3 separate regions of the Homo sapiens genome follow, and all the other regions are linked to region 2. Evidence: promoter capture Hi-C in 16 types of primary human blood cells and fetal thymus (Javierre and others, 2016). All regions are on one chromosome and are shown on one strand. Each heading gives the region's core, a stretch centred on a gene start or on the middle of the fragment in contact. The rest is flanking DNA. Distances are from core to core; before and after follow the strand shown. Region 1 holds the start of MVD (mevalonate diphosphate decarboxylase). Region 2 holds the start of ZNF778 (zinc finger protein 778). Region 3 holds the start of SNAI3 (snail family transcriptional repressor 3).

Evidence for each region. The method cuts DNA at HindIII sites, captures the fragments that hold promoters and counts their contacts. A CHiCAGO score of 5 or more calls a contact.
Region 1: the fragment with the promoter of MVD here is called in contact with the fragment with the promoter of ZNF778 in region 2 in 1 of 17 cell types (erythroblasts); the score reaches 7.0 in erythroblasts.
Region 3: the fragment with the promoter of SNAI3 here is called in contact with the fragment with the promoter of ZNF778 in region 2 in 4 of 17 cell types (erythroblasts, total B cells, naive CD4 T cells and 1 more); the score reaches 6.5 in erythroblasts.

What each region holds. Positions count from the first base shown.
Region 1 is chr16:88,661,102-88,664,946 of GRCh38, forward strand. It overlaps MVD (mevalonate diphosphate decarboxylase), which reads right to left and starts at 1,990. Exons shown (of 10, transcript NM_002461.3): 1 at 1,910-1,990. The coding sequence starts at 1,979. It overlaps SNAI3-AS1 (SNAI3 antisense RNA 1), which reads left to right and starts at 2,272. Exons shown (of 4, transcript NR_024399.1): 1 at 2,272-2,299. RefSeq lists silencers at 1,735-2,154, 2,495-2,654 and an enhancer at 2,235-2,284. The HindIII fragment of the contact is 12,211 bases long and covers 1-3,845 here.
Region 2 is chr16:89,216,204-89,219,605 of GRCh38, forward strand. It overlaps ZNF778 (zinc finger protein 778), which reads left to right and starts at 1,500. Exons shown (of 7, transcript NM_001201407.2): 1 at 1,500-1,707. It overlaps ZNF778-DT (ZNF778 divergent transcript), which reads right to left and starts at 1,450. Exons shown (of 1, transcript NR_186410.1): 1 at 1-1,450. RefSeq lists enhancers at 38-332, 1,282-1,331, 1,856-2,386, 2,387-2,916. The HindIII fragment of the contact is 2,087 bases long and covers 1,421-3,402 here.
Region 3 is chr16:88,684,751-88,688,426 of GRCh38, forward strand. It overlaps SNAI3 (snail family transcriptional repressor 3), which reads right to left and starts at 1,757. Exons shown (of 3, transcript NM_178310.4): 1 at 1,581-1,757. The coding sequence starts at 1,656. SNAI3-AS1 (SNAI3 antisense RNA 1) reads left to right here. Exons shown (of 4, transcript NR_024399.1): 4 at 2,041-2,436. RefSeq lists silencers at 1,368-1,527, 1,578-2,037. The HindIII fragment of the contact is 8,177 bases long and covers 1-3,562 here.

The DNA.
Region 1 (3,845 bases), core at 740-3,239, 550 kb before region 2:
CAAAAGCAATTCAATAGAGGAAGGATAGCCTTTCTGGGCTAACTGGACAACCTTGGATCACAGACTTAAATATAAAAGGCAATCCTGTACAACTTGGAGGAAAGCAGACAATCTTCAGGACATAGGGCTAAGCAAAGAGGTCTTAGACTTGACATCAACATTGATACACTGAACTTCTTTAAAATGAAAAACTGGCTCTTTGTTAAGAGGACAAAAAGATTAGCTAGTTTGGGAGACAATACCTGCAAACCACATGTCCAACAGGAGACTAATATCTAGAATACATATTTTATTTTTTTTCAGTAGAGACGGGGGTTTCACCATGTTGGCCAAGCTGGTCTCAAACTCCTGACCTCAGGTGATCCGCCCACCTCAGCCTCCCCAAGTGCTGGGATTACAGGCTTGAGCCAGCGTGCCCAGCCTAGAATGTGTAATGAACTCTCCAAACTTATAGTAAAAAAGCAAACCATCCAGTTCGAGCGTGGACACAGAATATGAAGAGAGATTTCACCAAGAAAACCCACAGATGGCAAATAAGCACAAAGAAAGATGCTCCACGTCACTGGCCAACAGGGAAACGCGAATGAGGACCACAGCACCCTGCCAGCACATCCCTACCAGGACGCGGCTAAAATGAAAAACAGCAACTCCACCAAATGCTGGTGAGGATGCGGAAAATCTGCATCACCGTAGGGATGCAAAATGGCCCAGCCACTCTGAAAAACAATTAGACAGTTTCTTTAAAAAAAAAAAGTATATATATAATATATATATGTATATATACACACACATACATCTATATAGGTGTATACATATACACACACATATATCTATACAGGTGTATATATATATACACACACACAAACATACATATATACATAGAAAGAGAGAGAGAGACAGAGAGGCATATATATATATCTACCATCTGACCCAGCAACCGCACTCCTGGGCATTTATCCCAGAAGAATGGAAATGTATGTTCACACAAAAACCTGTATACAACATTTTATGGCAGCTTTATTGGTAAGGGAAACACAAAAAAATTAGCCAGTCGTGGTGGCGGCTTCTGGAAAGAAAAGAAAGAAAGAAAGAAAACGTTAGATGCTCTTTGCGGGGTGAGGCCTTGGCTAGAGAGAGGGTGGTCCATGGATTCCACGGACTGGCTCAGCAACAGAGGGGCAAAGCACTGATACAATCCCGGGGCACGTCCACATTCTATGCTGAATGAAATAAGCCAAACTCAAAAGATACTGGGTGGGCCACATAACTGCGATTCCAGTTTCAGAACATTTTGAAATGACGTTACAGAAATGAGTGGTCAGTGGCGGCCAGGTAACCCCGGCGCGAGGGGAGGGGCGGGGCTGTGAACGCACAGGTGCGGACCGGCCTCCCCGGCACGGATGTGGGCCTGCGGGCCCCCCATTACCGCTCCTTGGAGGTTACCGCTGGGAGAAACGGGGCGAGGGAGGGACACAGGGTCTCGGGCTGGGGGAGCAGTGGCGCGATTTCCGCTCACTGCAGCCTCGACCTCCCGGGCTCTGGCCATCCTCCCGCCTCAGCCTCCCGAGTAGCTGGAGCCACAAACGCGCACCACCACGGCGGATTCTTACGATTCATGGGAATCGATGATTGATGATTTCGATAGTTCGGTAATCGCTAATGGGCAGGCGCCGGGCGACCCTGCAGGGGCGGCAGCCGTCGCGGGGGAACGGGTGGCGCCGAGCTTGTCACGCGAAGGAGCGCGCGGCCCCGCCCGACCACCGCCGCGCCCCTCCCTGAGCCTCAGTTTCCCCGTCTGTCGAGGCCCTGGGAGGGCAGGACGGAGCGCGCCGCCGAATCAGCGCGCGACCCCCGCGTACCCGGCCTCGCTCCCGGCCATCCCCGTCCCAGGCCGGCCCGCGGCACTCACAGTACTTGATGACCGCGATGTTGACCGGCGCTGTACAAGTGACTGCCGCCAGCGGCTTCTCCGAGGCCATGGTCCCACCGCGCAGTGACCCCAGCTCCACAGCCACTTACGGCCCGCGATCCCACCCCAGAGGCCTCTGCCTCCTCACGCGCTACCACAGGATTGGCCCGTGCGAGCCCGGCTGCTCGCGCGCCGACCAATCAGCGGCGAGTCGGGCGCACGCATTACCTCTCAGCCAATGGACGGGATCGGACGATGGGTTGCTGACGTAGGTCCGCCCCACCCGCAGGGTGCGCTCGCCAGGCCTGGGGCGTGGTGTTGTCTGCGCAGGCGCCGTGTGCCCAGGCGCCTGGCGTCCGCGTCGGCGATCCGGGGTCTGGGCGCGGCGAGGTGGGCGCTGTTGCCTGTGGGGGCTACCTGTCTGCTGGTGCTGTGCGGGCTTGTGCGGGGCTGTGCGGCAGCTGTGTGGGGCCCGTGAGGAGCTGTGCGGGGGGCTGTGCGAAGGGCTGTGTGAGGCGCTGTGCTGGGGGCTGTGCGGAGACCTTGAGGCGCTGTGCGGGGTCCGTGAGGCTCTGTGTGGGGCGCCGTGTGGGAGACTCTGCGGGGGCCGTAAAGGGTCCGTGAGGCGCTGTGTGCGGGTTGTGAGGCGCTGTGCGGGGACCATGAAGGGGCCGTGGGGCGCTGTGCGGGTGCCGTGGGGCGCTGTGTGGGAGGGAGGCTGTGCGGGGCCGTGGGACGGTGTGCGGGGCTGAGGGGAGGGCGGGTCGCGCTGTGCCCTCCTTGAAGCTCTTGGACGGCCCCGCTGGGTATGGGGGTGCACACAGGCCCGAGGGCAGGCGCTGGAGGATGTATCCCGGGATCCACTCTTAACCCGGCAGCCGAAGGCACCCTGTCCCGCCGCCCACAGCCTTCTCCGCGCCATGTCCTGGGCCAGGATCCCCCGCCACGGGGCTCACACGAAAGACCCCGGGGCGGGGAAGCCCCGCAGCCCGGAGCTGGGTCCAACCTGCATTAAGGTGGGCGTCTCAAATACCCCCTGTAAGGCCCTGTAGGAGCAAAGCCTTGGACTGGGTTGCGGCGCTTGTGTGTGCATTGACTTCTCCTGTGAAACGTACAGGAACATTTAAGCGTGCCGTTCCCTGCCATTCATTCCAATCATGTGCCACGCCCCCACTATTTCTAGAGTTTTCTCACCCCAAACAGAAACTCTGTCCCCTTAAAACAATGACTTCCCATTTTCCCCTTCCCCTTTTAAAATTTTACCTTTAGTTTTTAAATAGCTCAGATTGGCTGGGCATGGTGGCTCACACCTGTAATCCCAGCACTTTGGGAGGCCGAGGTGGGCGGATCACGAGGTCAGGAGTTTGAGACCAGCCTGGCCAACATGGTGAAACCCTGTCTCTACTAAAAATACAATAATTAGGTGGGCGTGTGGTGCACGCCTGTAATCCCAGCTACTGGGGAGGCTGAGGCAGGACAATTGCTTGAACTCAGGAGGCGGAAGTTGCAGTGAGCCGAGATGGTGCTGCTGTACTCCAGCCAGGGTGACAGAGCAAGACTCCATCTCAAAAAAAAAAAAAAAAAAAAAAAAAACTCAGATTTCGGAAAATAGGGGAGTATGCAGTGTGAAGTGTCCACTCTGCCTAGCCACCTACTTCTATTACCAGAACCATCATACTTATAAATTCTTTATTTTTTTCCAGAAATAGAAAAAAAGTCTGTTTTTTTTCTCACTCTGTTGCTCAGGCTGGAGGGCAGTGGTACGATCAAAGCTCCATGCAGCCTCGACCTCCTGGCTCAAGGGATCTTCCCACCTCAGTTTCCTCAGTAGTTGGGACTACAGGTACACACCACCATGCCCGGCTAATTTTTTTCTTAATTTTTTTGTAGAGATGTGGGGGGGTCTTGCTATGTTGCCCAGGCTGATTTGAAGTCC
Region 2 (3,402 bases), core at 250-2,749:
AGCCAAGATCGTGCCACTGCACTCCAGCCTGGACGACAGAGGGAGACTCCGTATCAAAATTAATAAATAATAAATAAAACACATCCCAAACACTCATAGTGTTGAACCATTTAGCATGTGGTTGCTTTGTATACTTCGTGAAATTGTGTCCAATCTCTGCTAGCCATAGATAAGATAAATCCTGGGGCTCTAAAGACTGCAAGCCGTTGCTGCCCTTCAGAGCTTTGTGACTCAGACACCTGTCAGGCTGCTGAGAAACGTGATCTAGTCACGTCAGCCCTCCCCCTGTCTGATCTCCTTCTTCTCTGGGAGTTCTCTGCGCGCCCCCCGCCCACGCTCATTTTTTTCTCTTTTCTGAGTAGTGACCCCCAATTCGAAGCCTGTGGGTAATCTCATGGTGCGTGAGACTCCCTCACCCTCCAACCTGTCAAAGCTTGTGCGCCACCGCCACCTCCTGGGCACATCTTGTTTCTTAATCAGCCACGAAATCACGTGAACACTTCACATGTGGTTTTGTTTTGTTTTTCACATTTAGACTCCTGATCCGTTTGGAGTTTATCCCTGTGAGATCCAGAATTAATTTCATCATTTCTCAGACGGCTAACCATTTGTCTTAGCACCTTTCATTATAAACTGCATGTTTGTTCCACCGCTCTGAAATTATGTTTATGAACCAAATTTCCATGTTACTGGGTTGATGTCTGGATATTCCATTTGTTTCCTGTTCATGTGTCACTAGCACACAGTTTTAATGACAGAGGCTGTTTTCGCATCTGTCGGGCATTGCGCTTTTGTTTGTCCGCGTCGTCTGCGTTATGAGACATTTGTTCCTCCATGTGAACTCCAGGATCAATATGCCTGGTTCCAAAAAAAAAACCTTTTCGTATTGTTACTGGAATCATGTGACATTTCTGAATGAACCTTGGGAGAACCCCTGGTATCAGTGCTATTTTGCAACGTAGTATAGGTGGTCTTGGCTCCTACGGTACATTAGAAAAGTAACAGAAACGCATATTTGAAGCGAAAAATAGATGAACATTTACAGAAAAAAAAAATACCACATTGAAAATGCAGTGGAATCAACTGTTAAAAGTTCGGCGTGATGTTCAGACAGATAAAAAGGAACGGGGCCAGTGACTCCCTGCAGAGATCGAGAGAAGACCGAGCACTCCCAGCACCCGCGGGCTTCTCGCTGTGACCGAACCGCGGGCCGCGCTCGCGACGAGCACTTCCTGGCTGTACCCGCCCAACCGCGCCCTCCTGGTCTGTTCCGGCTCCGCAGTTGCGTCCAGAGGCCTGATCCTTACGTCCGCCTGGTCCTCCGGGCCTGTCTCTGCCTCCAGCCCGGTTCCCAAGGGCGCCCCGGGGCCCTCCCGCACCCTCGCGGAAGAAACTACTACCTCCCCGCACCATAGGCCAAAGCTTCGGCCCGGAGGCTGGAGGCGGAAGTGACGCCAAAGACGCGCCGGCCCCTCTTCCGGCGCCGGCCCCGCCTCCGCCTGTCTTACAGCTGATCCGGTTCTTGCGGCGGTGCGTGCTGGCGCCGGAGAGTTCCGCGCGTGTCCTCGGGCTGTCCGCGGGGAAGCTGGTCCGGGAGTGGGCGCCCGCCCGCCTGCCTCGCGCCTTGCGCCCCCGGCACCGCTTCCAGAAGGGAAAGTCGCCGCCGCTCGCGGTAGACCCGGGCAGCGCTTCCATTCCGCGGAGCTGGTGAGAGAGGGGCCCTTTGCTTCCTTCACTTTGAACAGGGCGTGTTTCTGTGAGAATCTGGCTTCGGCTTTGACGTTTTTTATTTGTTTCTGGCACATTGTGTTGGGACCGAAGCGTAAGGTAGACCCCTGAGCGCCCCGGGCGTGCAGCTCCCTGTGAAAGTTAGCCCGTGGGGGCCAGCGGGAGCGCGCGTCCCTCGCCGCCGGGACTTCCAGGCCCGGCCCTCGGGGCGGGAGGGATGCGGCCGTTGTCCCGCTGGTCTTGGAGTAATCGAATCCACGGTGAACAGTGTGTTTCGACTAACTGTATTTTTTCTCACGTTTTGCTTTAGAAAATCTGAATCTAATAAAAATGTGAACATCTGCTACAAGGAATATCCACTGCAATCGTTTTACTCCTTTTTAGCTTTGGGCCATGTTTTCTCTCTCCCCCAATAAATAAACCTTACGGTGAATTATTATTTGAGTGTAAGTAAGTTGAAATTAAACTGCACACATGATACTTAACCTTTAAATACTTGGTAAAGCGTCTGTTAAGGGTAAGGACATTATCCTACTGAAACCACAATATTAGTATTTCATCTAAGAAAATTAAAATTAGGCCGGGCGCGGTGGCTCACGCCTGTAATCCCAGCACTTTGGGAGGCCGAGGCGGGTGGATCACGAGGTCAGGAGACCGACACCATCCTGGCTAACACGGTGAAACCCCATCTCTACTAAAAATACAAAAAATTAGCCGGGCGTGGTGGCGGGCTCCTGTAGTCCCAGCTACTCTGGAGGCTGAGGCAGGAGAATGGCGTGAACCCGGGAGGCGGAGCTTGCAGTGAGCCGAGATGGCGCCACTGCACTCCAGCCTGGGCGACAGAGCGAGACTCCGTCTCAAAAAATAATAATAATAATTAAAAATAATAAGGTCCGCTGGGCACAGTGGCTCACGCCTGTAATCCTAGCACTTTGGGAGGCCGAGGCGGGTGGATCATCTGAGGTCGGGAGTTCAAGACCAGCCTGACTAACATGGAGAAATCCCGTCTCTACTAAAAGTACAAAATTAGCCTTGCATGGTGGCGCATGCCTGTAATCCCAGCTAGTCGGGAGGCTGAGGCAGGAGAATCGCTTGAACCTGGGTGGCACAGGTTGCGGTGAGCCAAGATCGTGCCATTGCACTCCAGCCTGGGCGACAGAGCAAGACTCCGTCTCAAAAAAATAAAAAAATAAAAAAATAAGAAGGAGGTCATCCACTGTCTACTTTGTGTAATATCTAGGATTCTCAACATTTTTCCAACATTGCGCTGTTGGGTATTTTGGGGACTAAGAGCCCTTCAAGGTTTATCTGTTCCCATCGTTTATGTCTTTTCACCTAGAACAACCCCTGTGGTTTCTCTATCATATTGACTTTGGTGTTGTTTTCTCGTGATACGTTTAAATATTCCTCCATTTCTTGCTGCTTCCTATGAACTTGTAATTGAATTCAGAGGAGAGGTTGGCAAAGGGCGGATAGTAAGCACCTTATGCCTTTGGGTCCACGAGGTCTCAGATGGCTGAGTTCAGCCTTAGTCACCTCATGTCCCATGTTAGCTGTTCCTTCTCTACTCTGTCCTGGTTCCAAGCCCCAGCCTATTTCTGAAAAGGTAAGTGGTCAGCTGCATAGATGACCGTTTAGAGGGTGTAGATTTACTCTGAAATCCCAGAGGGTTGT
Region 3 (3,676 bases), core at 507-3,006, 530 kb before region 2:
AAAGTGCTGAGATTACAGGCATGAGCCGCCACACCCAGCTGAAGAGACTGTTTAAGTACCTTGCTGGCTTCAGGGGTTCCCTGGGGAGCCATAGGAGCCATTTATTTAAAAGGAGAGATTGAGGGGCCCCAAATCCCAGCACCTCAGGTCTATCCTGGGGTAACATCTTGGCAGAAAGTTGCCAGGGCCCCCTGGCTGTCAGAAAGCCAGGCAGCTGGGGCTACAGTGAGGAGGGGAGCGGGGGCGGGGAGCAGAGAGCACTGCGGGGCAGCACGGCTACTCACGACAGTTGCCCACTGGGCCCAGCACAGCTACCCAGATTTGCACACTGGGATGGACCCTAAGCAACACTTTGAAACTTGCAACTATTACCCATGTAAATTCCGCACACATGTGTAGTCACATGCGCATCCACATACACATAACAGAAGCCAGTGTCCTTCACCATGAGCCAGGCACTCCGGCAGTTTCTGCTCTATTTTATTTTACAAAATTGCTGGGGGTGACTGATGAAACTGATTTCAAAATGCACATTTGAAAAGCATGGTCCTAGCTGGCACCCCCTGGTGGCAGCCCGGGCCTCGGGTGTGGGTCCAGGTGGGATCCCCCCCATCCCCAACTCTGGGTTCTGAGCTGGGATAAAGGCCTCTTGGCGGTGTTGCTGGGGGCCACAGCCCCAACAGCGCCCTTCCTGCTCTCCCCCACCGGCCACAGAGCGTGAGTCCCGACCACCGCGTCCGCCGGCGCCCCTCAGTGGGCCTTTGTCCCAAGAAGCTGCCAAGCCAGGTGGGGACTGCTCTCACCGCCCGTGTGGCAGGCTGTCCTCTGAAGGACAGAGTCCTCTTCTCTCGTGTCCCTAAGCCTAGCAGGCAGTGGGAATGAACGGGCAGCCCGGTTGCTGGGCACCCATCTCCCCAGCCTAGCCGGTGTGTGGAGGATTGCAGCCCTTTAGCCCAGCCTGCCCAGGCAAGCCTGCCGGGGTGAGCAGGAGGGCTTCTGGGGTGAAGGGAGGTGGGGGAGGGAGGGAGACCACGGGCGGAGGCTCACCTGAACTGAATGCAGGAGGGGCAGTGCCTTTGCACCAGAAAGAGCCCATGTGTCCTTCTCACCATCCCCTGTGCTTACACCCCCAGTCAGCATGCTCCGGGGGTCCCTGAGCCGGGCCGCCCCAGACGGCCCTCCTTCCCTCCCACCCACCACCCCGCGACCCCTCCCAAACGTGTGCGCCAGGAAGATGACTCCAGGGTGCCTTTAGCTGGGGCTGTAGTGGTTGGGACGGGCGGCTGTATATCAGGGGTGAGTTCCAGGGAGACTTGGGGGCTTAGAAAACTTAGAAAACTTCTCCAAGTTGGGAGAGAATCCCGCCCGCCCTGCCGGAGGCGGGGCTCAGTGCCCTGAAGTGGAGGCGCCCGTGGGCCACCTCCCTCCCTGCAGCCGCAGCCGCTGCGCAGAGGCGCTGGCTCCTTCTCCTCCCACCTGGGACAGGTGTCTCCCCAGCCCCCGCTCCCAGGGGCCTCTCTCTCTCTCCCGCCCCTCAGGGTCGAGTCCCGGCAGGGGCTCGGGGATCGGGTAGTCAGTACCTCTCTGCGTCTCCAGCCGCCGGTAGTTGGGGACCCTGTGGCTGGAGTGCGTTTTCACCAGGAAGGAGCGCGGCATGTTCCCCTCCCGGGCGGCAGGCCGGGGTGGGCTGGGGCGGGAGGGGCGCGCCTGGGTCCGGACTGCTGCGTCCGCCGGCGCTTGAAGGGGTCAGGCTCATTAGCATAGCGCGCCGCCTCCGCCAACCAGCGCCCGGCGCGAGTGGGGCGGGGCCACGGGGGCGGAACTGAGGGCGAGGCGGGGTCTCGGGCAACACGCCCAGGACAGGTGCGCGGGCGGGACGGGGCGGGGAGCGCGTGGCCGCCGGTGTCCTCCCCACGGGAATTCTCTGGCGTGCGCGCCGCCGAGTCACACACCGACCCGTCGGGCCTGGCCACCCACTCGCCGTGAGTGAAGGGCAGAGTTCAAAGCTGTGTGGAAACCGAGCGAGAATCTCTTCCACAGAATGTGGAAGCGTCGGCCGAGCGCGGTCCTTGGAGAACCCTTGCTGCGGAGAATGACGCTCACTCTGCGGCCTGGCCTCGCCTCCCCATCCCTTCTGCAAACTCACAGGACAGGATTGATGGGGAGAGCCCAGGCGAAACGAAGCTGACCCTAGTGACCAGCCCTACTGGCGGCTCTGGAACAGGCCCGGGACCGGTGGCCTGGAGACAGTGGTCCTTTCTGGATGGGCTGCAGTCTCCGAAGGCTTCCCCCACTGGAGTCAGCCCTTTAGGAGTTTGTCCAGTGCCTCCAGAAAGCTGTTTTTTGGGGGACGGAGGACTTGGCCTGGAATTCTGGAATTCCCAGGGGGTCAGACATGGTTATGGGAAGTTTAATAAAACCGGTGAATCACGTGAATTCTGCAACAGCTGCACGTGTGACCTGGGCAATCCGTTTCCCTCCTTTGTGGTCCTGTAGAGCCCTCAGGGTCATAAAAAGCTGGGAGCCGCTGTGTCCAGTGTCTGGGTCTCTTTTGACATGGACATTTCATAACGTTGGGGGCCAGGTGGGGCCGTCTCTGGGCTGGCGTGCACACAGGGTGTCCCTGGCTGTGCCGCCGGCCTGCCTCCCCAGCAGGGCTTCCACCTCAGAGCTGGGTGGCCTTTGCCCCCTGTGGGCCGGGGGTGGAGAAGGTGGGGGGTGGTGAGTCCATGGAAGCTCTGAGGGACAGACAGCAGGGAGGAGGGCCGTGCCACACCAGCATCCCACGTCCCACATCACACGTCCAGGGTGTGAAAAGCTGGGCTAGTATCAGCCCCACTTTGCCAATGAAAAAAAACTAGGCTGTGAGTCTGGGCTCAGCAGCTCACGCCTGTAATCCCAGCACTGTGGGAGGCTGAGACAAGAGGACTGCTTGAGCCCAGGAGTTTGAGACCAGCCTGAAAAACAACATGAGACCCCGTCTCTACAAAAAAAAAAAAAAAAATTATTTTAATTAGCCAGGCGTGGCAACACCCATCTTCAGTCCCAGCTACTCAGGACGCTGAGGAGGGAGGATTGCTTGTTGCAGTAGCCTCCAGGAGGTGGAGGCTGCTGTGAGCTATGATGACCCCACTGCACTCCAGTCTGGACAACAGAGCAAGACCCTGTCTCAAAAAATTAAAAAAAAACAAAAAAGAAGACCAAGGCTGTGAGAGGTTAGGACACAGTGGGATTGGGACCCAGCCACACTCCAGCTTGTCTGCCACTTGGTGAGGGGGAGTGGAAGGACAGGTGGAGGTGCCCCTGGAAGAAGGTGCCCGCCTCTCCTGCAAGCATGGCCTGGCACCACCACGCCGGGAGTGTAGATTTCAGAGGACACATGCCTGCCTTCTGCTTATTCACCTGTTCCTCGCCTGGAAAGGTTTCTATTTATAGCCTCCCTTCCTTCTCTCTCTCCCTCGCAGACACAGATAACGCTTGCAGATACCTGAGCCAAGCCTCCACCCACACCGTCCCTCCCCGCCCACCTACCCGTTGTGTGGCCACCCGCCAAGCCCCAGCAAGCTTATCTCCTAATCCCAGCTAGAGCCTGGTGTTACTCAGGGCTGCTGTAGCCCTCCCGAGGAGAATGGCTGATCTCATCCCGGGAACGCCCTAGAGGGCCTGCGAGCACCTT